Regions from separate parts of the Homo sapiens genome. Here region 1 is linked to region 2. The links are contacts of gene promoters, found by promoter capture Hi-C in blood cells and fetal thymus (Javierre and others, 2016). All regions are on one chromosome and are shown on one strand. Each heading gives the region's core, a stretch centred on a gene start or on the middle of the fragment in contact. The rest is flanking DNA. Distances are from core to core; before and after follow the strand shown.

Region 1 (4,694 bases), core at 926-3,425, 2.1 Mb after region 2:
AGTAAATCTGTGAATTTGGTTCATAGGGGCCATGCCCTCCTTTTCTATCAGGGTTCTGTAAACATCCCTCTTCAAGCTAGAAGGGGTTTGAAAAGGACAGACAGGAGAAGCTTGCTCTTTGTTCAACAGCGTACGAGGAAGAGGTGCTCAATACGTTGTTTTTTTCTTTCTTCTATGTATCATTTTAAAATCTCCACTTTTCCGTTCTTCGCTAGCCCTTTCATCAGCCATTTTTTTTCTCTCTCAATCTCTGTGTACACACACATACACACATACCCACACCACGTACACATTTTAAGGCCTCCCATGACCCAGAGACCAAAGCCAGGGTTCCAATCTTTAAAGTCCATTCCTGGGGTGCTCTAGACTTTGCTTCTCTTCTCCCATGGTCTCATATTTCAATTTATTCCTTCTCCTTGATTAAAGTTTAGAGCAGTTCCCTTAATCTGCTTACTCTTTATATGTTTTAAAAAGGCCCTTTTCCAAGTTGTTGCACAAGAAGAAACCTTCATTTTCTGCTTAAAAAAATTTTTTTTTGTTTTTCTTTTTTTTTTAGAGATAGGGTTCTTCCTATGTTGACCAGGCTGGTCTCGAACTCCTAGCCTCAAGTGATCTTCCCATCTCGGTCTCCCAAAGTGTTGGGATTACAGGTGTGAGCCACTGCGCCTGGCCAAAAAAATTTTGTTTTTAGTATTTATTTTTTAGAGACAGGACCTTGCTCTGTCACCCAGGCTGGAGTGCATGGCACGATCATGACTTACTGTAGCCTTGAACTCCTGGGCAGACACAATCCTCCCACCTCAGTCTCCCAAAGTTAGGGTTACAGGGTTGAGCCACTGAGCCTAGCCTGAAACTTTCATCTTCAACACACTCCTGGTCTCTCCCATCTTTCCTATTAGTTTTCCTAGCTAAAAGCAGAGTTCTGACAGCTTTTCCTGGCCCTATGCTGAACACACATAAAATTTCCTCAATTTTGTGCAAGGCTCTGATGTGTGATTCAATAAATTACTTGCCATTCTTAACAATACCTTACTGTTTGTTTCTCTTCAGCGAATGTTCTTTCACCCAAAGCCTACTGAAACCTGACAATGTGTTAAACACTGTGCTAGACATTGTGGATATAAAATGAATAAAGCACTATTTTTTATTTGTCAATTATACCTCAATAAAGCTCTTTCCGCCTAGGAGGAGTTCATTGTCTGGAAAGCAAAGGCAGATATGTAAACATATATATTATAGTTCAGAGTGCTAAGTATCACACTGTGATGTGAAGAAAAACTAATTTCTTCTGGGGAAGTTGATAAAAGATCTCATAGGAAGTGACATTTTCATTGGTCTTGAACCATAAGTAGGAGTTTGCCAACCAGAGCACAGGGGTGAGAGTGAGGGCAGGGGTAAAATAGGGCTTCCAAGGGAAGGGAATCCAGTGTGCAGAGGCTCTGAAATGACCGACGAAGATTCTGACGTGTTTAGGGAAGTCTGCTGGGTTTGATGTGGTTTGGTGCATGGCGGAGTGATGGTGGGAGGTGCAAAGAGATGAAATTGAGAGGGCCCAGTTGAAGCAGGAGGATTGAACTTTATTCTAGAGGCAATAAGAGAAAGAGAAAACTGTTTAAGCAGGGGAGGAAACGATCAGGTTTGTCTCTTACTTGTTCGTTTCGTTACAGACTTCCGGGTTTTGGAAACTGAGGTGCTCCGCTTGCTTCATCAGAACAGCTCGGGTAGCCTCTGAGCTGAAACACGGCTTTTTTTTTTCCAGGTCTAGAAACGGCATGTTTTCAATATACCCAAGGCTACTAAGTTTGATCCCAGTGCCCATTTGTGCTAATGACGTTGGCCAGGGACGCCAATTTACTACCCTGACCCTGTCCTTCAAATATTGTCTCTCTCTCCTTGGCTAGGGTTGGACATGTTCTGACACCTTTCGTCTCTTTGAACCCCATTTTTCCGTTCTGATAATCTTTTTCTTCAGTTATGCTGACCATGTCTTTAAATACATTGCTAACGTTTTAGCTCATCCCACCCTACGTTTTAATCCCTCAGATGCAGACATCGCGGACAGCCACGCCCACTCAAGAAATTTCCGAAACAGAAAGTTTGTCTGCAACAGCGCGCCGTACTGACGTAGCAGTGCGCAGGCGCAGTCCCGGCTCCTGGCGGCGTGTTCCTCTTTTCCTCGGTTCCCAGTGTTCTGGCAGGTAAGGAACGCCGGCTCTTCGCCTCTCAGCGCGGCTTGTCCTTTGTTCCGGACGCCCGCTCCTCAGCCCTGCGGCTCCTGGGGTCGCTGCTGCATCCCGCACGCCTCCACCGGCTGCAGACCCATGGCCGAGCGCGGGGAACTCGACTTGACCGGCGCCAAACAGAACACAGGAGTGTGGCTAGTCAAGGTAATGTTCGCGAGTCTCCCACTTGCGCTCCTCCTAACACAAGTATAGTTTAAGTAACTTGAGCCTATCCCGCTCCGTGCGCCTCTTAAAGTTCTTTTACGGCTATCTCGTTAGAGCTTCACACATTTTGAGAGGCAGGAGTCATTGTTGTATCTGTTTGCAGACGAGGAATTAGTTTAGGGACGCAAAGTGTCTTTCAGCCAGTTACTACTCTGAATCTGCCTGGACTAGATCTCTTTCTCACGGCTTTCCTGGAATCTTGTCTTGGTGTCCCCAGATTTGGACGGTGCATTTTATCCCAGACTGAAGAATTCCTTGTATCTTCCCTTGGTGAAACTGGTTTTAGCCATGAGCCTGCGTGAGGTAGTTGAATGTCTACTTTCTGTACAGTTTTCTCGGCCAGAAAGTAGGACTGGTCCCTGCCTACTCTTAAAAGTGTTCTCTTAGGTTGATGGTCCTTAATGAAGCTCTCAAAAGAGGCGAGAGAGCCCCAAACTCACAGAAGGAGAGGTCATTGGACTGGAGTATTCTTTTAGAGCACATTTGGGTCTCGTGAAACTGGCCGTCAATAAACGTTTTATGTGAAGACAGCAATTTTGGTTAGCTCACAGTAAGCACTATTTGTGCTTTATTGTTTCATATTGGGGAGTGTTTTCTCCTAGGGGAGTTTCATAATACTTAAGCATATTCAAAATGTGATCCTGAAAGTCGTTGAAACTTAAAATGTAAGGACTTTTGGTTTCTTAATGCTTTAACTGTTTTATCACATGGCTGAGTTCTCGTCAATTAAATCTAAGAGGTCTTTCTTGTCGGCCTTCCTAAAACAGCCCCCTTGTGATCATTTGCTAACACGACAGATGTGTATTACATTCTTCAAAGCACTTTTCACAGTGTAGAGTGATTTTGTGTTCATATGTTCAAAGTTGGTTACCTCTGTCTTTCCAACACACAGAATCACATTCCATGAGAACAGGATCTTTGCCTGTCATACCCAGAATAGTGTTTGGCGCATGGTAATTACTCAACAAATAGATGATGAATAAATGCATGACCTCTCATTCTTCAGCCCTCGCCTTAGTCTGTGGCACTCATTTGACTTATTTCCAAACTCAGTGTGACTTAAAAGGATGGATTAAATAGGCATTTCTCTCTCCAGCAGCATGTTACTTGGGGGGAGAGTCACTAAGGAGGAGATTGCCCTTACGGACTGAAGGAAAAAGCTTGAAAAAATGGTGTGACTTGAGATGGTGCCATTGTCCTAGGAGCATGGTAAATGCTCAATGTTTGTCTTACAGGATTTGGATGGGTGGACACAGTGTATACCATGGGGAATGGAACAGAAATGCAAGACTCAAAATATATAATCAGCATGGCGTGTTGTGGAAAACAGAGAGAACCTAGAGCAGAAGATCTGTGTAGATGAAGATGGGGACCATATACTCAGATTGTCATATCATGAAACGGAGATATTCTAACTTTAGTTTACAAGGAAGTAACGAACTTTTTGGAGGATTTGAGTGAGGTAGAGATGCCAGATATTTATTCAGGAAAAAAAAAAATGTTTGGCAGTGTGCAGTACGAATTAGAGGGGAGGGTAACCAGAGTCACAATTAGAAAATTATCACAGGATCGGGCTGGGCATGGTGGCTCACGCCTGTAATCTCAGCACTTTGGGAGGCCGAGGTGGGTGGATCATGAGGTCAAGAGTTCGAGACCAGCCTGGCCAATATGGTGAAACCCCATCTCTACTAAAAATACAAAAATCAGCCAGTCATGGTGGTGTGCGCCTGTAGTCCCAGCTACTTGGGAGGCTGAGGCAGAAGAATCACTTGAAACCGGGAGACGGAGGTTGCAGTGAGCCGAGATTGCTCCGTTGCACTCCAGCCTGGGCAACAGAGCAAAAATTCCTTCTCAAAAAAATAAATAAATTAAAAAAAAGTGTAATTTGTTGCTTAGAAAGTGTATCTTCATTCTCATCTAATCAGAATTTGAATTGAAGTACATATTGATTTCAAGTTTTTTCTCCTTACATTAATTTTCCTATTAAAAATAATACCTTGAGTTCTGATCTTTGTTGCTAAATAATGTTTCTTCCTAGGATATCTCACGGTTTATAGATCATCTTGTACATATTTAATTCCATCACTAGACAGGTATAGAACTGTGTAAATACAGTAAGAACTATACATACAAGATCTCTGAGAGTTTTGAGCGGGAAAAAAATTAGTGCTTCACCAGAACTGGGAAGACATCATAAAGAAGGTGACGTTTAAGAAAAGCCTATTTGGAGGTTGCAGTGAGTCAAGA
Region 2 (4,437 bases), core at 1,617-4,116:
TCCCTCCTGTAAAGTCCAAGAGCACTATGGTTGTAATTCTTTTCATAAGTGCATTATACAAGTTGCTTCCATATCCTGTCGTTTTCTTTTTTATCCCTATGTAAATGAAAAGTTCTCTGAAAAGGAATTTAGAGGAGAGAGACTATCCCAATAAACAGTTTGCAAACCTGAGAGCCACAGATTTCAGTGTAAAAGGAAGGTTTGGCTCTATTTTAAGTTAGTCCTAGTTAGCCACTTGGGATCCATCTTGAAGGATTGGTTCTTTGAGGTTTATATTTGTTTGCACAACTTCCCTGAGTCAGAATGTTGGACAAATGTTATTCTCCTTTTACAGGTAATTTGGAGAGGTTAATGGATATGTTCAGTTATACAAGCCCAGAAAATAATGGAGGTACACTAGAACTCAGATGTCTTCCTTATTCCTGTAACCACCCAATGGGTTTACTTTGCTGGCTGTCTAGACAGAGCCAAATTTATAAAGACGGGGTAATTGCAATAGAGAAAGAGTAATTCATGCAGAGCTGACTGTGCAGGAGACTGGAGTTTCATTATTACTCAAATCAGTCTCCCAGAGCATTCAGGGATCAGAATTTTTTATTTATTTATTTATTATTATTATTTTTTTGAGACGGAGTCTCACTCTGTCCTCAGGCTGGAGTGCAGTGGCGCGATCTCTGCTCACTGCAACCTCTGCCTCCCAGGTTCAAGCGATTCTCCTGCCTCAGCCTCCCGAGTAGCTGGGACTACAGGCACCCACCACGCCCAGCTAATTTTTGTATTTTTAGTAGAGATGGGATTTCACCATGTTGGCCAGGATGGTCTCACTCTCTTGACCTCATGATGCACCCACCTTCGGCCTCCCAAAGTGCTGGGATTACAGGCATGAGCCACCGCGCCCAGCTGGGGATCAGAATTTTTAAGGACAACTCGGTGAGTAGGGGGAAGCCAGTGAGCTGGGAGTGCTGATTGGTCAGGTCAAAGATGAAATCACAGGGAGTCCAAGTTGTCTTGCGTTATCAGTTCCTGGGTGGGGGCCACGAGATCAGATGAGCCAGTTTATCGATCTGGGTGATGCCAGCTGATTCATCAAGTGCGGGGTCTGCAAAATATCTCAAGCACTGGTGGTAGTTTTTACAATAGTGATGTTAGCTCCAGCAGCAATTTGGGGAGGGTCAGAATCTTGTAGCCTCCAGCTGCATGACTCCTAAGTCATAATTTCTGATCTTGTGGCTAATTTGTTAGTCCTACAAAGGCAGTCTAGTCCCCAGGCAAGAAGGAGGTTTGTTTTGGGAAAGGGCTTTTATCATCTTTGTTTCAAACTATAAACTATGAATTACATTCCTCCCAAAGTTAGTTTGGCCTACGGCCAGGAATGTACAAGACAGCTTGGAGGTTAGAAGCAAGATGGTGTTGATTAGGTCAGATCTCTTTCTCAGTTGTAATTTTGCAATGGCGGTTTAATTCCCAGTCCAGTTCTCTTTATACTGCTATGCAATGCATGTGCTCATGTTCTGGTATGTACTATTATTCTGTGTCAGTGTTATCTTCCCTACAAGATTGTAAATTTCTAGGACCTAACTTCTTAGACATGCTAATAATATTAACTAAGTGAACAAATTAATAGACCCTCAAAACTTTAAATTCAGGAATAGAAAAAAAATAAAGCTTTTTCTTCCTGTCAGCTGATTTTGCAAAGGGTATAAGGAGCCAAAGAGCTGCCACGTTGGTACAGAAGTTGGAAAACACCATACGCTTCAACTGCTGGTTAATTTTTGCTCTAAAAACTTGATGGAGGCCAGGCGCGGTGACTCACGCCTGTAATCTCAGCACTTTGGGAGGCTGAAGCGGGCGGATCACCTGAGGTCAGGAGTTTGAGACCAGCCTGGCCAACATGGTGAAACCTCGTCTCTACTAAAAATACACAAATTAGCCAGGTGTGGTGGCACGTGCCTTTAATCCCAGGTACTCGGGAGGCAGAGGGTGCAGTGAGCCAGAGATTGCGCCACTGCACTCAGCCTGGGCAACAGAGCGAGACTCCATCTCAAAAAAAAAAAAAAGCTTAATAATAAAATGGGCTTTTATATATACAAATCAGCACAAACTCATTTGAGGGAGAGTAAGATTTACCTACTTGCTCACAACTTTTTTTCCCCTGCCTCAGGCTCCTGAGTAGCTGGGATTACAGGGACGCACCACCACACCCAGCTAATCTTTGTATTTTTAGTAGAGACGAGGTTTCACCATGTCGGCCAAGCTGGTGTGATCCACCCGCCTCGGTCTCCCAAAGTGCTGGGATTACAGCGTGAGCCACCGCACCCGGCCACAACTTTCTTCTGTGTAATTTCACCTTAAATACAGCCATTTACTTGGGGGTGGAGTAAGCAAATTGCCTCTTTAATTTCTCTCCCGGGGTGGTAGAACTGTGGCATTAAACAGAAGTGCGAACAGAAGTTGAGAGTGGGAAGAAAGGCTGCCCGGAAGGGGGTCAGGAAAGCTCAGGCAAGCCCACCCTCAGGCACTACAGCTAGACTCCGAGCTTACTGGGCAGTCATCTGATTCGACCAACATCAGTTCGCAGGGCTTAAGCCCAGTCCCTTACGGCGGCCTGGGGAGGGACCAGGCCCAAGTATATAAAGCTCCCTGAGGGTCCGCGTTGGCTTTGCGCCTGTGAGTGTGATTCAAGAACGTCCCAGTGCCCTTGGCTCCTTTCGGAGTGTGACCCCGTGCTTGCACGGGACACGTTACCCAGCTCGGGTGAGAAGGGTATCTTCCGGGAACCTCGCCTTTAATAGCACAACGAGCGCAGAGTCCACTGGATCTGCGAGAAGAAACCGCGCTAACTAGTTTGTCCCTACGGCCGCCTCGTAGTCACTGCCGCGGCGCCTTGAGTCTCCGGGCCGCCTTGCCATGGCTGCCCGTGGTGTCATCGCTCCAGTTGGCGAGAGTTTGCGCTACGCTGAGTACTTGCAGCCCTCGGCCAAACGGCCAGACGCCGACGTCGACCAGCAGAGACTGGTGAGTCCTGCCAGCGGCCCCCACCCCTCTCTGGCTCCCTTGTAGTTTCTGCTTCAGCCCCCTCTACCGCCTCACCCTTGAACCTTTGTACTCCCCCGCATTCGCTCACGGTCTGTGCCCTAGCGCTCACTTGTTCAGTGGAGAGACCGCTTTGTGCTGGGCTTTGACGCCTGGGCGTGGAAGACGGAGCAGTTCTGAGGATCTGTCTCCTCAAGGAGCTTCCAGTCTTGTCTGGGACACAAACCAGAAAACAGGCAATTGCAAATACAGTAAAATAAGTGCTGTATGTGGATTTTCCTATCTCATAGGAGGCCCTAAAAACGTCTTGCAGGGGACGTGGTGGGATCAGGGACGCTTCTTGGAGAAAGCTGTAGTTAAAAATTAAGATCTGAATGAATAAAAACAGTCCATTCAGCAAGGAGAAGGGGAAAAAGTGTTTCGGGTACCAGGACTACTGTCTCCAAAGTCTCCGGCACAGAAACAGGGCCCAGTTGGAAACTCCAAGTGGTGTATTCAGGATGAACTGTAGAGCTGGAAAAAGGAAGGGTCTAACAGAAAACTGTCCAACAGAAGCATATTGTGAGCCACATACGTATTTTTACGTTTTTTTTTTTTTTTTTTTTTTTTGAGACGGAGTCTCGCTCTGTCGCCCAGGCTGGAGTGCAGTGGCGCGATCTCGGCTCACTGCAAGCTCCGCCTCCCGGTTTCAGGCCATTCTCCTGCCTCAGCCTCCCAAGTAGCTGGGACTACAGGCGCCTGCCACCACTCCCGGCTAATTTTTTGTATTTTTAGTAGAGACGGGGGTTTCACCGTGTTAGCCAGGATGGTCTCGATCTGCTTACCTCGTGATCCGCCCGCCTCGGCCTCCCAAAGTGCTGGGATTACAGGCGTGAGCCACCGCGTCCGGCATATTTTTAAGTTTTTTGTAGCCATATTAAACAACTGAAGAGAAACAGGTGGGTTTGATTTTAACCATGTATTTTCTTTAACCTGATATATGCACAGTTGCATGGTAATTTTCAACATTCAATATGAAATATTGCCCAAGTGGTGGTTTAGGCTTGTAATCCCAGCGCTTTAGGAAGCCCAGGCAGGAGGATCACTTGAGGCCATGAGTTTGGAGGACAGCCTGGGCAACACAGGAGACCCCATCTCTGCTAAAAAAAAAAAAAAAAAATTAGCTGGGTGTGGTGGTGTGAGCCTGTAGTCCTAGCTGCTTGGGAGGCTGGGTCGGGAGAATCACTTGAGCCCAGGAGTTGAGGTTATAGTGAGCTATGATTTCGCCACTGCACTCCAGCCTGAGAGACAGAGCTAGACCCTGTCTCCAACAAAGAAAAAAAAATGAGGCAGTAGAGATTTAGAAAGTTTTAAGTAACTGGTCCAGGATCATCCCTGGTAAGTGGCAGATCTACGATTCCAAAT

What was found. The method cuts DNA at HindIII sites, captures the fragments that hold promoters and counts their contacts. A CHiCAGO score of 5 or more calls a contact.
Region 1: the fragment with the promoter of GTF2F2 here is called in contact with the fragment with the promoter of DNAJC15 in region 2 in 3 of 17 cell types (monocytes, total B cells and naive CD8 T cells); the score reaches 8.6 in monocytes.

What each region holds. Positions count from the first base shown.
Region 1 is chr13:45,118,335-45,123,028 of GRCh38, forward strand. It overlaps GTF2F2 (general transcription factor IIF subunit 2), which reads left to right and starts at 2,176. Exons shown (of 8, transcript NM_004128.3): 1 at 2,176-2,387. The coding sequence starts at 2,322. RefSeq lists enhancers at 1,806-2,449, 2,210-2,339, 2,450-3,091. The HindIII fragment of the contact is 3,497 bases long and covers 109-3,605 here.
Region 2 is chr13:43,020,720-43,025,156 of GRCh38, forward strand. DNAJC15 (DnaJ heat shock protein family (Hsp40) member C15) reads left to right here and starts at 2,867. Exons shown (of 6, transcript NM_013238.3): 1 at 2,867-3,015. The coding sequence starts at 2,908. RefSeq lists enhancers at 2,686-2,745, 2,756-2,805, 3,316-3,365. The HindIII fragment of the contact is 4,162 bases long and covers 2,057-4,437 here.